Regions from separate parts of the Homo sapiens genome. Here region 2 is linked to region 1. Evidence: promoter capture Hi-C in 16 types of primary human blood cells and fetal thymus (Javierre and others, 2016). All regions are on one chromosome and are shown on one strand. Each heading gives the region's core, a stretch centred on a gene start or on the middle of the fragment in contact. The rest is flanking DNA. Distances are from core to core; before and after follow the strand shown. Region 1 holds the start of FOXP1 (forkhead box P1). Region 2 overlaps FOXP1 (forkhead box P1).

The links. Contacts are between HindIII fragments. The CHiCAGO score rates a contact against its expected background, and 5 or more counts as called.
Region 2: a fragment that was not itself captured here is called in contact with the fragment with the promoter of FOXP1 in region 1 in 8 of 17 cell types (total B cells, non-activated CD4 T cells, neutrophils and 5 more); the score reaches 8.1 in total B cells.

What each region holds. Positions count from the first base shown.
Region 1 is chr3:71,582,140-71,586,753 of GRCh38, reverse strand. It overlaps FOXP1 (forkhead box P1), which reads left to right and starts at 3,026. Exons shown (of 21, transcript NM_001349338.3): 1 at 3,026-3,183. FOXP1-DT (FOXP1 divergent transcript) reads right to left here and starts at 1,811. Exons shown (of 1, transcript NR_182289.1): 1 at 1-1,811. RefSeq lists an enhancer at 2,542-2,836 and a silencer at 2,914-3,153. The HindIII fragment of the contact is 2,384 bases long and covers 1,769-4,152 here.
Region 2 is chr3:71,040,880-71,045,493 of GRCh38, reverse strand. FOXP1 (forkhead box P1) reads left to right here. Exons shown (of 21, transcript NM_001349338.3): 11 at 3,962-4,166. Among named protein-coding and RNA genes, the nearest start is that of FOXP1-AS1, 250 kb to the left of the region's middle. The HindIII fragment of the contact is 8,522 bases long and covers 1-4,614 here.

The DNA.
Region 1 (4,614 bases), core at 1,777-4,276:
TCACCAAAAGGTGGCGTCCTACCCCCATGCCCTTTATTTTAAAACCTTTCTTGCTTTAATTTAACAAAAAGAAACTTCCAGTTGATTACTGATAAAGAAATTAAAATCTGCCCCCCACGAATGTAACGTGACAGTGTTGAAAATGAACAATATGTTAAGCTGCAGTTAAGTTTCCCTCTAATGTAAACCAAATGGACATCGAGTTCTTTAATAAGGCAGCACAGCACATTAGACAGTATCATACAAAATTGAGTACAATATATCATGGGATTTACAACCAGGATTTCCTTTTGTCTGCAAAACTTGTTGCCAACCTGACTGTGGCCCCCACTTGCAAGTGAATGTAGAATTTAAGGCAGTTAAAATGCAGAATCAGATTAGCAGCAATCTAAAGATCTTTTTAGTATTGCGATGATAATAATTTTTAATAAACACACTGCTTAATCTGAAAAACAAGATCAGAGGATGAATTGTTCTTTACAGACTATGAATAGATCTGTTACATTTAAATAAGTCGTTATTCCCCTGAGTTATAATTCTACAGTCAGGCATATACCATAAACATGTTATATTTGGCATAAAGTACTTTAGAAATTAAAAACCATTTTTAATAGGTTGACCACTACAGAACCAGTAGACTGGCTACTTTGTAGATTTCCACTTAATTCCGTGTGAATTCAGCATATGGAATTTCCAGTGATGTCAAAGAGTTGTTGGCAGTATTAACTGAGTTGACATAAAGCTTTTAGTTCAGTGCCTAGATCATAGTATTTAATAAATGTTAGATGTTATTATTGACAGCTTAGACTGTGAGCTCCTCAAGGGCAGGAATTTTTATTTTTTCATCCCTCTGTGCCCACTCTGTGGTCTAGCACACAGTGGGTATGTCATTAATCCCTTTATGTCTTGACAAACAAGACGTCGAACCCTAGCCTCTAGGAAGCTAGGACATTCCATACAAACTAAAATGCATTTTATTGGTCTAGATTCTAGTCTAAAAGATTCAGTGAATAGTCTTATCTGGATAGCATGGAACTTTATGCAGCATGCATGCAATGTGAATTCTACCAGGCTGAAATTACCTTAGCAGCCTCCCTTTCTTTTATTCTGTAGCATCAGCGAATGGCTTTGTTATTTTTTTTTTTTAACTTGCGAAAGATACAATTTCAAAGCGATAGTCTTATGCCACCCTTGAAATTAAGATTTAAGTTCTTCTGTAAATTAATGTTTAACAATATTTGTAAAGGGGCATTACGCGAAAGAATTTAATAATAACCTTTTCAGGATATTATCTACAACTGTGCTGGTCTCAAGACCAAAGGGACAGTAAGCCTCTCCCCTCCCCGCAAGGGGAAGTACTTTGTAGGAATCCACAGGGGTGACTTTTAATATATTCTCATAAAGAATTGGCCTGGTGTACACCAGCCAGCCAGTAGCTGGAAATGCTGGTTTGGGAGTCTGGCCACTTCTGTGGTGGTGGGTCTGAAAAAATTTACTTCTGTTAACAACAACAACAACAACAACAACAAGACATAGAGGTCTTACAGCTTTCCAAGTCACGTTTTGGAAACACATACTCTGCTTCCTTCTCTATGCGTATTGATAAAAGTGAAAGAAATACTAGTGTCTTTTGTTTTATGTATGTATATTTCAAAACATTTAATTCAGGCTCTTAGTTTATTCCTTCGAATTTCTAAATTCAACCAAACTTCAAAAACCGCAAAAAGAAAAAAAAAAATCTCACCTTTTCAAAGAATTGGACAAAGCTTTTTGCACGTGACTGATCACTGGGAGAGCAGGTAATTTGTGTTAAACAACGGACTGACATGCTAGCCCCCAGGCGTTTTCCTAAGAGGAGTCGTGGCAAGAACACAGTTCCTGATGCAGCCACCTTCCCCCAAAGTGGACTCGATTGCACATTCCTGCAGTGGCTCTGACAAGGGGGCAGAAGCTCGTCCCACATTCACACTCTCCTGATTCCGAGAAACAGGGGAGAAAACCCCTCGCTGGCTGGCGGGGTTTCTGTTTCCTTGCAAACAGGGGTTTGTCCTTCTGCTGAACTTTCACCTCCCGAACTCGCCTTCTTTCATTGGACAAAGTGCAGAAAGAAAGAGGAGAGACCGAGGGAGGACGGGAGAGAGGGAGAAAGGGGGTTGAAAACACCACCTCCCACCCCGCTCTCCTTCAACTGTCACTGATGGCAAAACACTTTCACTTTTAACTGGAGGAAACTCACATTCTAGCCTGTCCTCTCCCCTCCCTTTCATATTTTTAGCTCAGAATCCAAGCAAATAGCCATCGCATTCCCATCTTCGTCCCTAGTTAACACTCTCCCTTCTCGTTTTTTCCGCTGTCTGAATGGGCCCCCCATTTCCCATCTCCTGAGGAATCTCCCCCTCCGCCCCCCTGCCCCTTATTTTCCAGGTCTTTCCTGCCAGATCCCTCTGTTGCCAGGGACTGCTCTGGCGTTCCCTTCCTCTCTCTGGTCCGCGGGGCTCTGCCTCCCTCTCCTCTTTCCAATCCTGCCTGGACGCCCCTCACTTCCCCCTCCCTGGATCCCTCCCCCCAACCCCCCCCCCCATTCTTTGGCAATTGCGATTTTTTTTTTCTGGGAGCCCGGTTGTTTACCCAGCAGGTGGATGTGACGTCAGGGACGCACAACAGCAAAAAATAACAACATCTCCCTCCGCGACGTGTTGGCCTCTCTCGCGCGCCTTATTTATTTATTTGTTCCGGGATGTCGGGGGGGAGGGGGGAGGGAGGAGGGGGGTGGGCGCCAGCGCCCCGGCGAACGGCAAAGAGGGAGCCGCTCCCGCTCGGGGGGCCGCTGGAGTGCCCAGCGGGGTGCGTGAAGCGGAGAGGGGACCCCTGCGGGAGGTAGAGGGTCGGGCCGGGGTGCGCCCCCGGGCCGGTGCTGCCCGCGCCTCTGCCGCCGCCGCCGCCGCCACCGGCGCTGGCTGGGCTCCGGGAAGCTAGTCCGGAGCGGAGGAATCTATTGTTATTTATTGTGTGGCGGTTGCACGCTGTACTCGCGGCGGCCCGGCCCTCGCCCGGGAGTGCGTGTGTGCGCGCGTGTGTGCGCGAGTGAGTGTGTGCGCGGGGTGCGCGCGCGGGCGGGAGTGGGCGCGCGCGGGGAAAGGCCCGAAAACACCTTAGTTTGCACCGAGAGACCATTTGCAGCGGGTGAGTTTGTATTTTTCCATTTCTGCTCCACTTTTTCCCAAGCCGCCTCCTGTCTTGTTTCCGCCACTTTAAACAACAACAACAACCAGCACAAAAAAAAAAAAAGAAAGAAAGAAAAAGAGAAAAAAAATGGAAAAAAAAAAACAACTACTTTCCACCTCCAGGCTCCACGTGCATCTCCCCCAGCCCTCCCCTCTCTTCCTCTCCCCCCCGGGTCGAGGCCCAGCTCTGGGATGGGTGGGGGCTGCGGGCCGGCGCGCGGGTGGAGGGAGCTCCGGCGGCGCCCGCACCCTTTGGGTTTATTTGCATAAGTCAAATGGGGGCGGGGGCGGTGGCGACTGTGAGGAGGCGAGATCGCCTGCCCGTAGGCCCCTTCACGCCTCTCTCTGCGCTCTCCACGATCGCCTAGGGGAGAGAAATCAATAAGCCCAGGCCGCCTGGCGCAACTTTCGATGTCCGGCGTTGGCGTCCGGTGGCCGCCCGGGCGCGGGGCCGGTGCGGGGTCCCGGGTCCTGGCCGCGGCGGGAGGGGGCGCGCGCCGGGCGCCTCCTAGGCCCAAAGTTTAGACTTGGAGCAAACTTTTCCCCTTCTTTCCCCGCGGGTGTGTGCCCCCTCGGTGCCCTTGAGCTGCCCCGCGGGCCCCAGCAAACTGACTGTGGTGCCTGGCCCTGGGCCCCGCACTGGGGAACTTCCCCGCTGCCACGCGCGCGTTACCCCGAGAGTCAGCGGCGAGGAAGCTCTCCCGCCACCCCCTCGGAGCCCGGAAAATTCAAACACGCACCTGCGCACCCCCAGCCAGACACGCACCCCTACGCGCGCTCGGCCTCCGCTTTCCCGAGACGAGTCCGCAACAGCCGTGGCCAGATCCACGGGTGGGTGCGGGAGCCGGATGCGCTGCGAGGAGTCGCCGCGCCCGGATCTCTCTCCCACCATCACACACATTTTCTGATTTTACCCCCCTCTGAAGCTTGGGGGACGGGGAGATTTCCCAAGCTCCGATTTGTCCTGCGTCGCGCGCGTGTCGCCTCGTCCCTCCGGCCCTGTCCTGGCGGCCGATGGCTCTCCGTCCCTCGCTTGCGCGCAGCCTTCCTCCCGAGCTCCCTGCGCTCTATTCCTGTCCCGCCGAGACGACTCCCTGGAGCCAGCGAGCCGAGGCGGCGTGCGCTTCGAGTGGGGACCACGGCGGTGGCGGCGGCGCCGGGAGCCGAGGAGTTTGCCAGTTGCCGCGGGGTCGCGGTCATTTGCTGCCTCCGCCTTCCCTCGCCCCCGCCTCCCGCCTCCCTCCTTTTCAGACAACGTCGCGCTCGGAAACTTAGATTCCTTCTTCTTTTTGGCCCTCGACGAGCCCCCCTCCCCACCTGTTGTGAGCTCCGCCTTGGTCCCGGGAGACTGGCAGTGACACACACGGGCTCTGGGGAGCTCCGCTCCCGG
Region 2 (4,614 bases), core at 989-3,488, 540 kb after region 1:
TTACACCTTTGGGTTTATTGTTGGAAATATGGCAGGCTGTTCTGACACACCTACCGGACTTGAGCTCCAACCTCTCTCATCAAGTTTGCTCACTAAGGTTCATTGTTATAGTACATCAGTTAAGCTGTCCAAAAGAGGGCAATTGGGCAGTGACAAGACAAGCTCATGTGTAATGTGAAAGAAATGAATGTGGTGATGCATGAAGTGTAATCTCTGCAGTAACATATCAGAGACACTGGTAGGTAATTCACTAGTCATGGCATTGATTGATAGGCTTAGCAGTCTGCTATAACTATTAGCCCCTGCAGCATTAGGAAGAAGCATATTTGAAATCTAAGGGGTGCCTCTGTGTGTGCCCAAGATGGCATAAATGTAAATATAAATATTTCTGGTGTCAGGTTCTTGCAGTAAAGTGAACTACCAGTGTTATTTCCATCTCTCTGAATCAGGAGGTTGGTTTTGTCCCCCCACTCCCTCACCTCAAGTGGCTAGAGAATTCAGTCATGTTGGACTAGAACACAATTTTTTTTTATCAGAGAGATGATGGCTTAAAACTGATGTCATTATGAGGTTTAAATCAACTTTCTGCTTGCTTGAACATGGTCACCTGGGTATGGATGTACAAGGACAAAAAAAGGTTGATCAACTCTGTTTGTCTTTGAGCCAGTGATACCTGGGGTTGTAAAATTGAGTTCCATGAACAGTAATCTGTCATCTGTCCCCACAACATACATTTTTTAAACCTGTGCCTGCATTTTCTTTTATAATGAAGGGGCCAGTTGTCCTGGAAAAAGAAATGTTGCAAGACTTGGGGGTTATCTGTTAAAAATACTGGTAATGCCCACTTCATAATGAAATCATCAAGATTATTTTACATACCTGTTCATGGCCTTGCCGAGTTAACCTTAAACATGTAAATGTCAAGTATAGGAATAGATAGAGAATTAATATTTTGAAGGCCTTTTTTTCCCTGAAGGTTTTATAATAGGAAATGGAGGGATATTTTGTGTTGTTTTTAAGGTTATTGTAGGGTCTTCTTTCTGTTTTACATAATTAGCCTATCTGCTTTTCACCCTGGTCTCTTTAATCATCTCATCCTCCCTAGCACCAGTAATTTCATATAGAAATATTCTTTCAGTCTTATTCTGACCTTTTAATTTTTAAAATGTAAACTCTAGGTAGCAGAAAATTACATGCTTGGCTATGTACCTGCTAATGGATTTGTTTAACTTCGTACTATTATTCTTAGTCTACCATTTTGGAAGAAATACATACTTTCTGGAAATTTGTTATCCATTTAGTCTGATGAGTGACTGGGTTACCTTTTATCTGTCTAACATGAGATCTTAGCTGTCAAATAACAACACCCTTTGGTAGGTAGCGCTCATTGAACTAACAGTTTAACATCACTAACGATATATGGCATTGATGGAGGAAAGCGATTTGACTGCTTCTGTGTTAAGTGTGATGAGAATGTTCTTAAAAGTAATTATCACATTGCAGTTTGACCCAGAAGTATCGCTGTTGTCACTTAATGAGTTACTATTTTTATTTACCATTTTTCTCTATGGATAATGGAACTGATTGCCAGCCCATTGGAATAGATGGGAGAGTAGAGTAACATTAATGCACCCTGTAGGTATAACAAGTGGTAAATACATTTGTCTTTGTCTTTATTTGCTGGATAAACAGCTTACTTTTAAAACAGCATCAAAGTTCTGCTTTTCTTCGAGAGAAAGCGGGAGTTAACACAGTTGTTAGGACCCTGTCCTAGTCTTCCCACCTCCCATGCAGCTGACCCAGAAATCATTTAGTTTGAGTTGAGAAATAGGTGGCTTGTTCTTTTCATGTGTTTACTCTCTAGAAAATAAAAATAGATGTTGACTTGTGTGGTTTTATATCAGTATGCCATCATCAACAGACAAGCCTATTAACTATTGTTTCCATTGAGTAAACAGTGGTCTGAGGGTCACCCATGTTCACAGGTAATTGTTGGTGTGCAGACAACAGTAGCGGGCCTGCTAGCTACAAACGCATCCCACCTGTCACTTCGAAAGGTGTTGGAAAATAATAGTTCAGATGCAGCAAAACCGGACATGGGGTTGTGGAGTGACCTTTCCCCTTTGTTTAATTTGCCTCTGAGGCTTAATTTCAGGGGACAAGTAATAATTGACTATGCCTAATAACTAAATGCTCATTTGGGACAAAATCCATCAAAATATAATTGGCATTTGATTTTTATGAAGGGAGAAGAAAACCGACTTGTCTGTCGAGGATGCCTCCTAAGAATATCTGACCACTTAATGTATCATTTGAAGCCTCCTTTATAATATATATTAATTGCAAATGCTTGAGCATTTGAACATTTTCGTGGAGAACCGTTAGGAGGGACCAACTGTTTTTGTTAACGCTCCTCTCAGAAAGGCGGGGAAGGTTATTGGTCTGCTGTGCAATAATTTACTCCTCTTTGATATGCAAACGATCCACGGTGAATATAAAAAAATCCTATCAGACTCATTTCACAGTTCTTAACCACTCGGATTCTCTGGAGTCCATCGCCTCATTAGACCAGTGCTCTCCAATGCTAGCATAATTAAAATCTTTAACAGTTTAGCAAAGTAAAGATGTTTGGCTGATCACGTTGAGATGATTATCTATCCATTGTATTCTAAATGACAAAAATAAATTAAATTTAGACCTTGGCATTTTTTATTATGTGTTTCAAATGAATATAATGCACACAGCCTTCTTTTTTAATTCGATACCTTAGGTTTGGTAAGAAACATGCCTGTTTCAGCTGCTGCTATATAGTCAGAAAATGGCAGGCTTTCTGGGATGGCTGTGTTACACTTGATTGAAACAATGAACTGCAATCCAGACGTCCACTTCTAATGTGGTATTGCCTTAGGATGTGCAGGGTTTATGTTTTCTTTTCGGTGTTCCTCCAAAGGAAGTTTTGTTGCTTGTTGTCGTTGTTGTTGTTTTTGTTAGTTGTCATCTAGAATATCTTTATTCTGTGCATGTGTGGGCTAGAATATGCATTGAGGTGGGATTTGGAAACCTGGGCTACAGAGGCATGCCAGCAGGATAAAGACGAAGAGGCCCACAATAGTGAGATTGGCATACTGATTGTATCTCTTCTTGGGGGAAAATACTGGATTCACTCCTTAAAACCCATGTCCATTTAGATCCCCTTTAAAAAAACAAGAGAACTTCATTACTGTAAGTTTATTTTACGTTTGCATTTTATTCTGCAATGGTTCATTACCATTGATCTAAGAAATGACAGTAATAATAGTGTTACTTGTATAAAAAGTTACACAGTTTTTCAGTAGACACATCCATCAATTAAGCATGTGGTACTAGAAACCAAAATTAATGAGGAAGATAGGTGTGTTAATGAAATAATCATAGTATAATCAATTTGACTGTTAAAAGTTGAAAAGCATTTCAGGAAGACGATATGAATTCATAATTTATGTCTAAAAGTGATTAATAAAAACTATATTTAATAACAAAGCTATTTGTCATCATTTAAGACTTAAGCACAAAAATTATTCATTTTGTAGTTCATGTTGTCATAATAGTATAGTTGAACAAATTTATTTTGAGCCCTTCTTTGTGTCTAAAACTAAGGTAACATCTATCTACTTTTCATCAAAATTGAGAAATAACACTTGGGATGGTTAGAGGCATACTGTTGTGGCAAAGTAACTGTGTTTTGAGTCACTTTCACCTGAGTCTTTTATGTGCGATGAGGGCAACTTCCACTCAGTTGCTCGGTAAGAGGACACACTTTTTACTACCGCATCTGCCGTAGTTGGGAGGGGAAAAAAAACTGCACACACCGAAAAACCCCCCTAACACTAGGCTTTGTTTACTGACTCTTTGATTTAATTGCTGTTTGAAGAGGACGGAATTAGCTGTTAATTGATTTAATTATCCAATTTGTTTGTTTCAGGCATGATTCCAACAGAACTGCAGCAGCTCTGGAAAGAAGTGACAAGTGCTCATACTGCAGAAGAAACCACAGGCAACAATCACAGCAGTTTGGATCTGACCACGACATGTGTCTCCTCCTCTGCACCTTCCAAGACCTCCTTAATAATGAACCCACATGCCTCTACCAATGGACAGCTCTCAGTCCACACTCCCAAAAGGGAAAGGTAGGAACCAGCCACTGAGATGGGTCCAAAACTGCCTTTAACATGAGAGGGGTGGGTGGCCCTGCCTCGTCATATCTCAGTGATCCCTAATTGGATCCATGTGACTTGAATGTGCATATAATTACTGAGGAATGTATTCAGTATGGTTTGGGTGTGAAGCATCTAATTATTTTCACCTTTTCAACATGGAATTAGCACTTATGTAGATCTACTCTCAGCTTAGGAACCCGGGCAGAAGTCGTGTAGTTTCTCATTGGATGGGTTGGATTTCCAGGCTTCCAGGCCTACTCCTTCTGCCAAGTGCTCACTCCGTACAAGCTGAATTCCTTGGCTGGAAGTGCCTTCTAAGGGAATAGTAGTGTCTGCTGTGGGCAATTTTGAATTATGGTTTGAGAAAACATAGAACTTATGTTACTCTACATTGCTCCCCTTGAAGGCTGGGCGCCCA